Linked DNA regions of Homo sapiens: regions 1 and 2 are each linked to region 3. Evidence: promoter capture Hi-C in 16 types of primary human blood cells and fetal thymus (Javierre and others, 2016). All regions are on one chromosome and are shown on one strand. Each heading gives the region's core, a stretch centred on a gene start or on the middle of the fragment in contact. The rest is flanking DNA. Distances are from core to core; before and after follow the strand shown. Region 1 overlaps SNRPF-DT (SNRPF divergent transcript). Region 2 overlaps ELK3 (ETS transcription factor ELK3). Region 3 holds the start of HAL (histidine ammonia-lyase).

What was found. The method cuts DNA at HindIII sites, captures the fragments that hold promoters and counts their contacts. A CHiCAGO score of 5 or more calls a contact.
Region 1: a contact is called between a fragment that was not itself captured here and the fragment with the promoter of HAL in region 3, in 1 of 17 cell types (endothelial precursors). The highest score is 5.1, in endothelial precursors.
Region 2: a contact is called between a fragment that was not itself captured here and the fragment with the promoter of HAL in region 3, in 2 of 17 cell types (monocytes and M0 macrophages). The highest score is 8.2, in monocytes.

What each region holds. Positions count from the first base shown.
Region 1 is chr12:95,851,713-95,854,600 of GRCh38, reverse strand. All of the region lies in intron 1 of SNRPF-DT (SNRPF divergent transcript), which reads left to right. Among named protein-coding and RNA genes, the nearest start is that of SNRPF-DT, 5.7 kb to the left of the region's middle. The HindIII fragment of the contact is 767 bases long and covers 1,146-1,912 here.
Region 2 is chr12:96,212,958-96,216,149 of GRCh38, reverse strand. The region is part of intron 1 of ELK3 (ETS transcription factor ELK3); the gene reads right to left. Among named protein-coding and RNA genes, the nearest start is that of ELK3, 20 kb to the right of the region's middle. The HindIII fragment of the contact is 561 bases long and covers 996-1,556 here.
Region 3 is chr12:95,994,992-95,997,841 of GRCh38, reverse strand. HAL (histidine ammonia-lyase) reads left to right here and starts at 1,498. Exons shown (of 21, transcript NM_002108.4): 1 at 1,498-1,764; 2 at 1,851-2,178; 3 at 2,849-2,850. The coding sequence starts at 1,932. LOC102723340 (a long non-coding RNA gene) reads right to left here and starts at 1,360. Exons shown (of 4, transcript XR_945237.4): 1 at 1,212-1,360. RefSeq lists an enhancer at 1,116-1,285. The HindIII fragment of the contact is 1,685 bases long and covers 1,367-2,850 here.

The sequences.
Region 1 (2,888 bases), core at 280-2,779, 140 kb after region 3:
TGGGCTGTGGGTATGGTGTTTGATTTTCAGTCTTTTCCTCTGTGATATGAGTTTAATTTTCCTTGGTTAATGAAATTTCAGTAAGAAGATTGAAGACAATTGTTTTCCTCTTCAGTGGATTGGATCTTTAGGTAGATAAGGAAACTTCAGAGAAAAGTCTCTTCCTGTGCTTCAGGAGAGGAGGAGGGGCAAGAGATGGGGGGTGGGAGAAGGTCAGAGAGAAGGTCAGACCTTGGTTCTGAGGCTGCTGCTTTAGTGCAAAGTAGCAGTATGCTTCGGGGTATCATTTTCTGAGCCCCAACAAAGGAAACCTGGTATTGTGGGTAGGAGCCAATACTGTCTGAGTTCAAATCCTGACTCTGCCATGTGCAGCTTATCTCTGCTTCAATCTCCTCATCAATAAAGAGGATGATCATGATAGTACCTATCTTAAAAAAATTTTTTTTTAGTGAGGTGGGCTGTAACTATGTTGCCCAGGCTGGTCTCAAACTCCTGGGCTCAAGCAATCCTCCTGTCTCAGTCTCCCAAGTGGCTGGGATTATGGGTGTATACCACCATGCCCAGTTCAATACCCATCTTATAAGGCTGCTATTAGGATACAATATTTGTGGTGTTTATCCACCTCCTGATACTGAATAGTTTCTGTAGCGAGGTACGTAGGCACGTGAGTAGGTCAATGTGACCTACAATAACTAATGCTAATAACTAATATTGGACTACTTGTTTGCTGTTTGCTAAACTGCTGCTTGCTCAAAAAGTTCTGGGCTGTTGGCTTTGATTCTTCAGCTGTGCTGGAATCCACTGTGCACATCTATCTGTCTGGGTCTATCACTTCACCTCTTGGGACCTGGGGGGCAAGGGAGGCTGACATGGCTAAGACAATGCTTCTGTTTGCTGTGTGTAGTAAACTGTCTTGTTCTGATCCACATAGTCTCATTGTCTCCTTTCAGCACCTGTGGAGAGACAGCAGGTTTACTCCTTGCTACCTGAAGTTGGGGTTCTCTCCTGACTCTCACAGGGTTAACATTAAATGAAGAACATTAAATGAGATAATATATGCAACGCAGTACAATATCTGGTCAGTTCGATAAATATTTGTTCTCCTACATTTATATTCAATCAAAATCTAATTATCCCCAAAAGCTTGGTTTAAGTAATGTAAAACCAATGTAAAAGTAGCACCTTATATATTTATGGGGAGACCAATCCCTTTATGGACCAGAAAATTAGTTTGCCTAATAACTCAAGATATAAGAGATTAGTCTAGACCCAAAACCACATTTATTAGCCATTAAGTGCAGAGGGAGCTGGAGGGAGCTAGCAATCAAGGACCTGGGAAACAGATGAGACAGAAAATGAGTGGATGCATACAATTTGTTCATATATATTGAGTTATATTAAAAAAGCAGTATAGGCCAGGCAGTGTGGTGCATGCCTGTAATCCCAGCACTTTGGGAGGCCGAGGTGGGTGGATCACTTGAGGCCAGGATTTCAAGACCAGCCTGGCCAACATGGTGAAACCCCATCTCTACTAAACCTCGTCTCTACTAAAAGTACAAAAATTAACCAAGCATGGTAGTGCATGCCTGTAAGCCCAGCTACTCAGGAGGCTGAGACACAAGGATCACTTGAACGCAGGAGGCAGAGGCTGCAGTCAGCCGAGATGGCACCACTGCACTCCAGCCTGGGCGACAGAATGGGACTCTGTCTCAAAAAAAGAAGGCAGTATATACGGCAGCAGAAGATAATAAAAACAGTATATTTAATAGCACATTATATGATTGTTTTATATGATTGACAACATAATGGTTGATAATGCTGGTTCTAGAGGCCAGGTTCGAATCTGAGTTTGAATCCTGCCCCCAACACTTACTAGTGGGAACTTGTGTAAGTTACCCGCCCTCACTAAGCTTATTTTCCCATGACATAGGGATAATTGTTTCTTTCTCCCAGTGTGGTAGTGGATGTTAGGAGTTAGTACAAGGTTGTTCCTCTATCCTTCCTGAAGATGTGGTTTTAAAACCATTAGATGGAGTAAGCAAAGTATGCACCTGTGCTGGGGTATGGGGGTAGTCACAGTGGTCTGAATGGAGTGAGGAGAACATCCACATAAGAGAGCAGCCAGTGTGGGGTGTCAGAGCCTGAGCAGGAGGAGGAAGGTATCTACATAGGAGGGCAGGCAAACATGGGAAGTTGGTGCCTGAGGAGGTGAGGATGGTGATCACGCATGGCGAGGGGCAGCCCAGCACCAGCCATTGGAGCCCAAGTAGGATGAAGCATCCCCAGAGGGTGGCCTGACAGGGAGTGTTGGAGCCTGAGTGGGGTTAAGAGGGTGTCCACACTGCGGGGAAGAGGGTGGCCTGCTGTGGAGTGTCAGAGCCTAAAGGAAGCAAGGAGGATGTCCATGCAGAATGACCTGGCACACGGTGTCAGAACCTGAATGGAATGAAGAAGAAATGCAGGGGAGGGGACAATGGCAGGAAGGGAAATTTGTTACAAGGGCACTAATCAAAGGAATCAACCTATAATAATGAGCATACTTAATGCTCAGGTTTTAGTTTCTAGAAACTGCTTCCCACTAAAGGAATCAGGATCCCTTCGAACATTGGCTATTTTCAGTCTTCTTCACTATAGTAACTGGTAGACACCATCTTATTACAATCCAGTGATCAAACAACTATCGTTAGCAACTGGAAAATCAAAATCAGGTGCCACATGATAAGATGCAAAGAAAAGATGCATTCTGTGATATTCTTACCAAAGCCACATAACCTGAATCTAGTAATCAGGAAATATCAGACAAACCACATTGAGGAACAAAGTGGCCTGCAATGTTCAAGAGTGTCAAGGCCACAGAAAGATCTCCATGATAAATTGCTGAGAAAGAC
Region 2 (3,192 bases), core at 27-2,526, 220 kb before region 3:
AACACCGCTCATAGCCGCTGCAGATGGGGCCCTACAGGAGGGCATTCACGGGCTGGTCAGGGCAAAAGACACAGAGTAGAGAGGCCGAGAGTAAAACGCTTGACCTCTGGCACAGAGGGGAGGGACATTTTTGCAGACTCTGAGTGATTATTTTCTGCCCTTATTCTGTTTTCAGCTTTTTGCACTTAAAGAATGCAGTTATGAAAACAGTTTTGAGGCTAGGCGTGATAGCTCACGCCTGTAATCCTGGCACTTTGGGAGGCCGAGGTGGGTGGATCGCTTGAGCCCAGGAATTCGAGACCAGCCTGGGCAAGAGTAAGACCCCATCTCTACAAAAAATACAAAAATTAGCTGTGTCTGGTGGTCCGCGCCTGTCCACCCAGCTACTCAAGAGGCTGGGGTGAGAGGATCGCCTAAGCCTGGGAAGTAGAGGCTGCAGTGAGCTGTGATTGCACCACTGCACTCCAGCCTGGGTGACAGAGCGAGACCATCTCTCTTTAAAAAAAAAAAAAAAAAAAAAGGTTTTATGTCCCTCTTTAGTCTTTCCCATGTTTTTATTTAACTTTGATTCATTCTTTAATCCGACGGAGCCTCAAAAAGAAAGATGCTATTGACAGAAATATTGATCATTCTCATTACGCTGTGCCCGCCTCCGCCTACGTGAGAGCTGTCAGGTCACATGACACGATCCCAGCTTCAGGTGTCCCAGCTGCCTCCTGCCTCTGTCACCGAAAAGCTACTGGCCTCTTCTTGGAAGCTGACCTCCTTCCTGTCGGCCACAAGGTGGCGCCCGACGTCTTAATGTGAGCAAGGGCCGCACAGACCCCTTATGCAAAGTATGAGGTTTTTGCCTCCATTCTTAGAAGTCGAAATGCCCACTTATTTGTTCTTCTTTCTACTGATGGCAACCTAGCACTTCCCTTTGCATGTTCCTTGTTTCATTTTTACTGAGGTGGGAGTTGAGGGGGCAGAATTAGCTTTGATTTTCTTAAGCTTCTATGTGGTGGGAAATAAGAAACGAGGCAACTTAAAAAAAAAAAAAAGGCAATGAGAGCCCAAGAAAAGGAGAAAAACTTCTGGGTAAGGAATAAACAAAATAGGTGCTCATGAGGTACCCATGTCTTTTTTCGTTTGTTAAATTTTGCATGGTTAGAGAAATGAAGATGGATTTGAACACTTCTTACTGAAAATTCTGCTGAGTTCAACTCCTCTGCCAGTATCTGCTATGCATTTCCATGTCATGATACTATCATTGTCTAAGACAAAGGGTAGTAGCCATTTCATTATAGAAAATGAACCCTGTACCTCAGTCAAAGAACTGGAAGACAACATTTTATATTATTAGGGATCTGCAATAACTCAGCACAGAGTAAGTGTAAGGTATTAAGTAAATAAGGATAATATTTGAAAAAAAAACTTATACAAGTTCTGAAGTTTTTTATTATTTCTGTGAGTTGGAAGACTATTAAATTTATTTTCAAAGGACATTTAAATTATTTTGATCATTATCACTGTGTATAAAAAAGGCATGAGGCCAACTTCATGTCTCCCAAGCTTTTCATTTATTAACAAGTATTTGCATTCTGTGAATATCTACAAATTGTTCATTTTAAAAAAGGTAAACAAAAGTAGGTATTGCTCACCTATTTACTTACTCTTTACAGTCTGCAATGGTTTTTGCTGTTTTTTTTTTTGTTTGTTTGTTTTGTTTTGTTTTTTGAGACAGAGTCTTGCTCTGTCGCCCAGGCTGGAGCACAGTGGTGTGATCTCGGTTCACTGCAAGCTCCGCCTCCCAGGTTCAAGTGATTCTCGTGCCTCAGCCTCCCGAGTAGCTGGGACTACAGGCGCACACCACTGCCTCCGGCTCATTTTTGTATTTTTAGTAGAGACAGGGTTTCAGCATGTTCGCCAGGGTGGTCTCAAACTCCTGACCTCAGGTGATCCACCCACCTCGGCCTCCCAAAGTGCTGGGATTATAAGCGTGAGCCACCGTGTCTGGCCCAGTCTGCAATGTTTTTTAAATAACTCTTCCATCTTGGGAAAGAGAAAGGTTGCTGGGATTACATGCCTGTACATGTTATATCTAGCACAATGTAATATCTAGCACAATGCAAGGATTACTGGGTTTTTAATGAACGGATTACATGTCTGTAATCCCAGCACTTTGGGAGACCGAGGAGGGAGGACAGTTTGTGCCTAGGAGTTCAAGACCAGCCTGGGCAACACGAGACCCCCATCCCCACAAAAAACACAAAAGTTAGCTGGATGTGGTGACACATACCTGTAGTCCCAGCTACTTGGGGAGCTGAGGCAGGAGGATCACTTAAGCCCAGGAGTTTGAGGCTGCAGTGAGCTGTGATCACATCACTGCACCCCAGCCTGGGCAACAGAGCATGAACCTGTCTCAAAAACAAAACAAAAAAAAAGAGAGATTTTTCAGAGGAAATCACTGACAACCACTGAAATAACAACATATGCAATTTACTGTGTGTAGGAACACCCCTCTTTCCTTCTGGAACTATGCTGTCTCTGGCTAAATTAGAAGTAACTCAATTGGTTTGTCAGTGACTTTTATATGGGTGAGTAGTAAATGATGGCTTCGTTAACACTGGCTGAGAAAATGTCTTACAACCATTCGACTTTTTCCCACAGAATTCACCGCACCCCACCCTAATAACCACCATACAACCCAGCCCTATGTTATCCTACATTTTCAGAGCGGGCCCACAGTAAGACAGAAAAGGGCCTATTTCCATCCAAGGCTGCCTCGTGTGGGTACCTCTTGATCCCTAACAGTCCAAAACTTTTTAAGATTCCTGGGATAGAGTTTGTTCTTTCTGGGCTTAGAGAAGAAGAGGTGGTCAATCTGCAGGGTAAAGAAATAACTGATTGTCCCAGAAGCACACCCTATTTCTCTGTAGCACAAAGCAGCAAGGCAATTTAAATGAGATGGTGTGTGGAAAAAGCATGGCACTGCGCCAAAGGCTTATATATGTTTTAAACCTTCAACAAGGTTTCTATGCCCCCTTCGTATATGCCTTATATGAAGCCTTCCACAACACATAAACAGCTATTTATTTTTAGCCATCATTTCACTTGCATTACCCAGCACTTCCAACACAGCCCCTGACAAACAATAGGTACTCAATTAAAAGGTGTGTAATGAATCACAATTTCTTTGGCTCTCGATTT
Region 3 (2,850 bases), core at 249-2,748:
AGGCTGGAGTACAGTGGTATAATCATAACTCATTGCAGCATTGACTGCCTAGGCTTAAGCAATCCTTCCAAGAGATGGCTGTTTTTTGTGATGACTAAGGGGATGGGTGTTATTCCAAGTGTAGACATAAGTTTAGGGATGCAAAGGAATCTCAGAGTGCTTAAGAAAGAGTGGTCCAGTGAGCGACTAGGGACCAGCTTCCTAGGATAGTAAGTGAGGATGCTGGTGGGAAGTGGAGGGATGAAGAGACTGACTGGAGGTCAGGTCCAAGGCTGGCAGTGACTAGAGTAAAAGGGCAGCTGGAAGGTTGTGGTCAGAAGGTGGAATATTGGAATTTCAGATTTCTTAAGTGTGTCAAATTCAGGTCGTGACAGATTCCAGGGTGATTTCTTAAGTGTGTCAAATTCAGGTCATGACAAATTCCAGGGTGCAGTCATGGTGTGGGTATCTGAAGAGCAAGTTTCAATAAGGCTCAAGGAAGGGTAGCTATTTGTACGCTTCCTGGGAAGCTGTCAGCAGATGAGAGGGACTCTGGGTATGAGTATAGGTGTTTTTCTTGAGCAACCATGTCTCTCTTCCCAACAGAAGTCTGATTTAGTGGAAACAGACTTTTCAGGATTTTTCTAGTGCAATAATCAAATCTCTAAAAATTGGCTTACGATGAAAGTGCTGCTTAGTCAAAATAGCATCTGCATATCTTTGATGCCGTAATCATGCTATCCAGAGTTCCTTAATACCAATGGTAATAAGGCGGGTGCAGGGAGCAGTTATCTGTGGTGAAGAAGCTTAATTGGGTGAGGGATATCCATGTGCCAAGATGAAAGAGCATTTATGGAACTTTATAGCTTTATGATTCATACAGAACATTTATAAAGCATTATAGTTACATGGAGTATTGGTGTCCAGATACTAGTAATCACAGACACTTCTATAATATTTCCACTATGCCAGGTGTTGTGTTGAGGGCTTTACATATATGAACTGACTTCATCCTCCCAATAGCCCTTTGACATATATACTATCATCATTACCATTATCTTCATTTTACAGATGAGGCAACTGAGGCCCAGAGAAGTCAAATCACTTGCCCACAAGTCATACACTTAGCAAATGGCAGAGCCAGGATTTGATCACAGGTAAATCCTGCACATACTGGAAGGAGGCAGTTAGCCCCTAGGCCTTCTGATAAGGAAATACAGGGTAATACTCACCTAATCAAGGCTAATAAGTAGTAGAGCTGGACTCTCATCCACGGCTGTCTGAGCCCCTAATCTCCAAGTCAGAGTGGTTCATTTGCCCAGATGACGACCTTTAGTTGTGAAAATGATCTCTGGCCTTTGCAGTCTTCCCTGGTGGAAAGAAAGCTTCAGAAAACCTTACTGGTGACAGGAAGTAGTTGCTCAATACATGTTTGTGGAATAAACAAATGAGTGACGATTGCCACACTCCCAGTGTCACAGTTGGCCCACAGAACACGTTTTACAGTTGAGTAATCTCAGATAAAGACAGGAACATGGTGTTTATAAGCTGCCCTTAATGGCAGAGAACACAGACAGAAACGAGGGAAGAGAGAGAAATTGGGGACCCTGAAGAAAGGGGGCCAGCAGCAGGTAGGTGCCATCAGGGACAAGAACAGCACCTCCCAGGGTGGGAGACCCCAGGCCTTTCTGGCAGCAGGTCTGGATGGAAAGTGGACAGGAGGCTCACCCGTCTGCATCCCCTGCTCCTGCCCCTGCTCGGCTACAAAAACCAAAGGGACAGCAGGTACCTCAATAAATATTTGTCCAATGCATGAATGAGTAAAGGTGAAGGAGGGGGAGTGGTTTGAAAGTCTATTCTCATCCTTCCAGCTGACCACACCCCGGTAGCCACTCCTGCATAAAGCTCTCCCCTCCTGTGACCAGCTGAGGACCTCAGGCTGCAGCGGAGCCATGCCCAGATACACGGTGCACGTACGTGGGGAATGGCTGGCAGTGCCCTGCCAGGACGCGCAGCTCACTGTGGGCTGGCTGGGCCGGGAGGCCGTGAGGCGCTATATCAAGAATAAGCCCGACAATGGTGGCTTCACCTCCGTGGATGACGCGCACTTCCTTGTGCGCCGGTGCAAGGGCCTGGGCCTGCTGGACAACGAGGACCGGCTCGAGGTGGCCCTAGAGAACAACGAGTTCGTGGAAGTGGGTGAGTGGCTGCAGGAGAGGGCCGCGAACGGGTGCGGTTTGGCCTGGCTTAGTCTTTGCAGCATTGAACCCCCACCTCAGGGAAAATGATGAGCAGAGGTCAGGCTTGCCGAGGCTGGCCCTGTGCAGGCACATGCCACGCCTCTGGGGATCTTAAGTCCTCACACAACCCTGTGAGATGGGTAGGATTCTCCTCCACCTCTGATGGAGGAGAAATCAGAGAGGAGGTAACTTACCCAGACTCCAGCAGCTAGTAAGTAACAAAGACTAGACTGGTACTCAAGGCTGCAGGTCTGAATCCCTTTGCAGTGACTGAATCATTTTGAGGTTATTTTGCCTTTCGAAAGAATCCACCCCCACCCCCAGACTGGAGGCCGGCAGCATAGCATCAGTTCAGATTTTGAAGAAAATAAAGCTGGGAATGGGGATGGAAGTGGAATTCTGTCTTGAACTTTCATCTAAACCCCTGGTCTCTGCCCTGACACCTACCTTTCTGCTTTTTGCTCTCCTCCTACATAAAGATGCTAAGACCACATGAAACCATCTGAAGCAGTTTTAAAGCAGCCATTTCTATAGAATTCATGGGCCAATGATGGGCCGTTCCTTGGTTTAACAGGGGGAACATGGCTGTACAATGTGATCTGTAACGAGTCTCCCGTGCATTGTTTTAGTT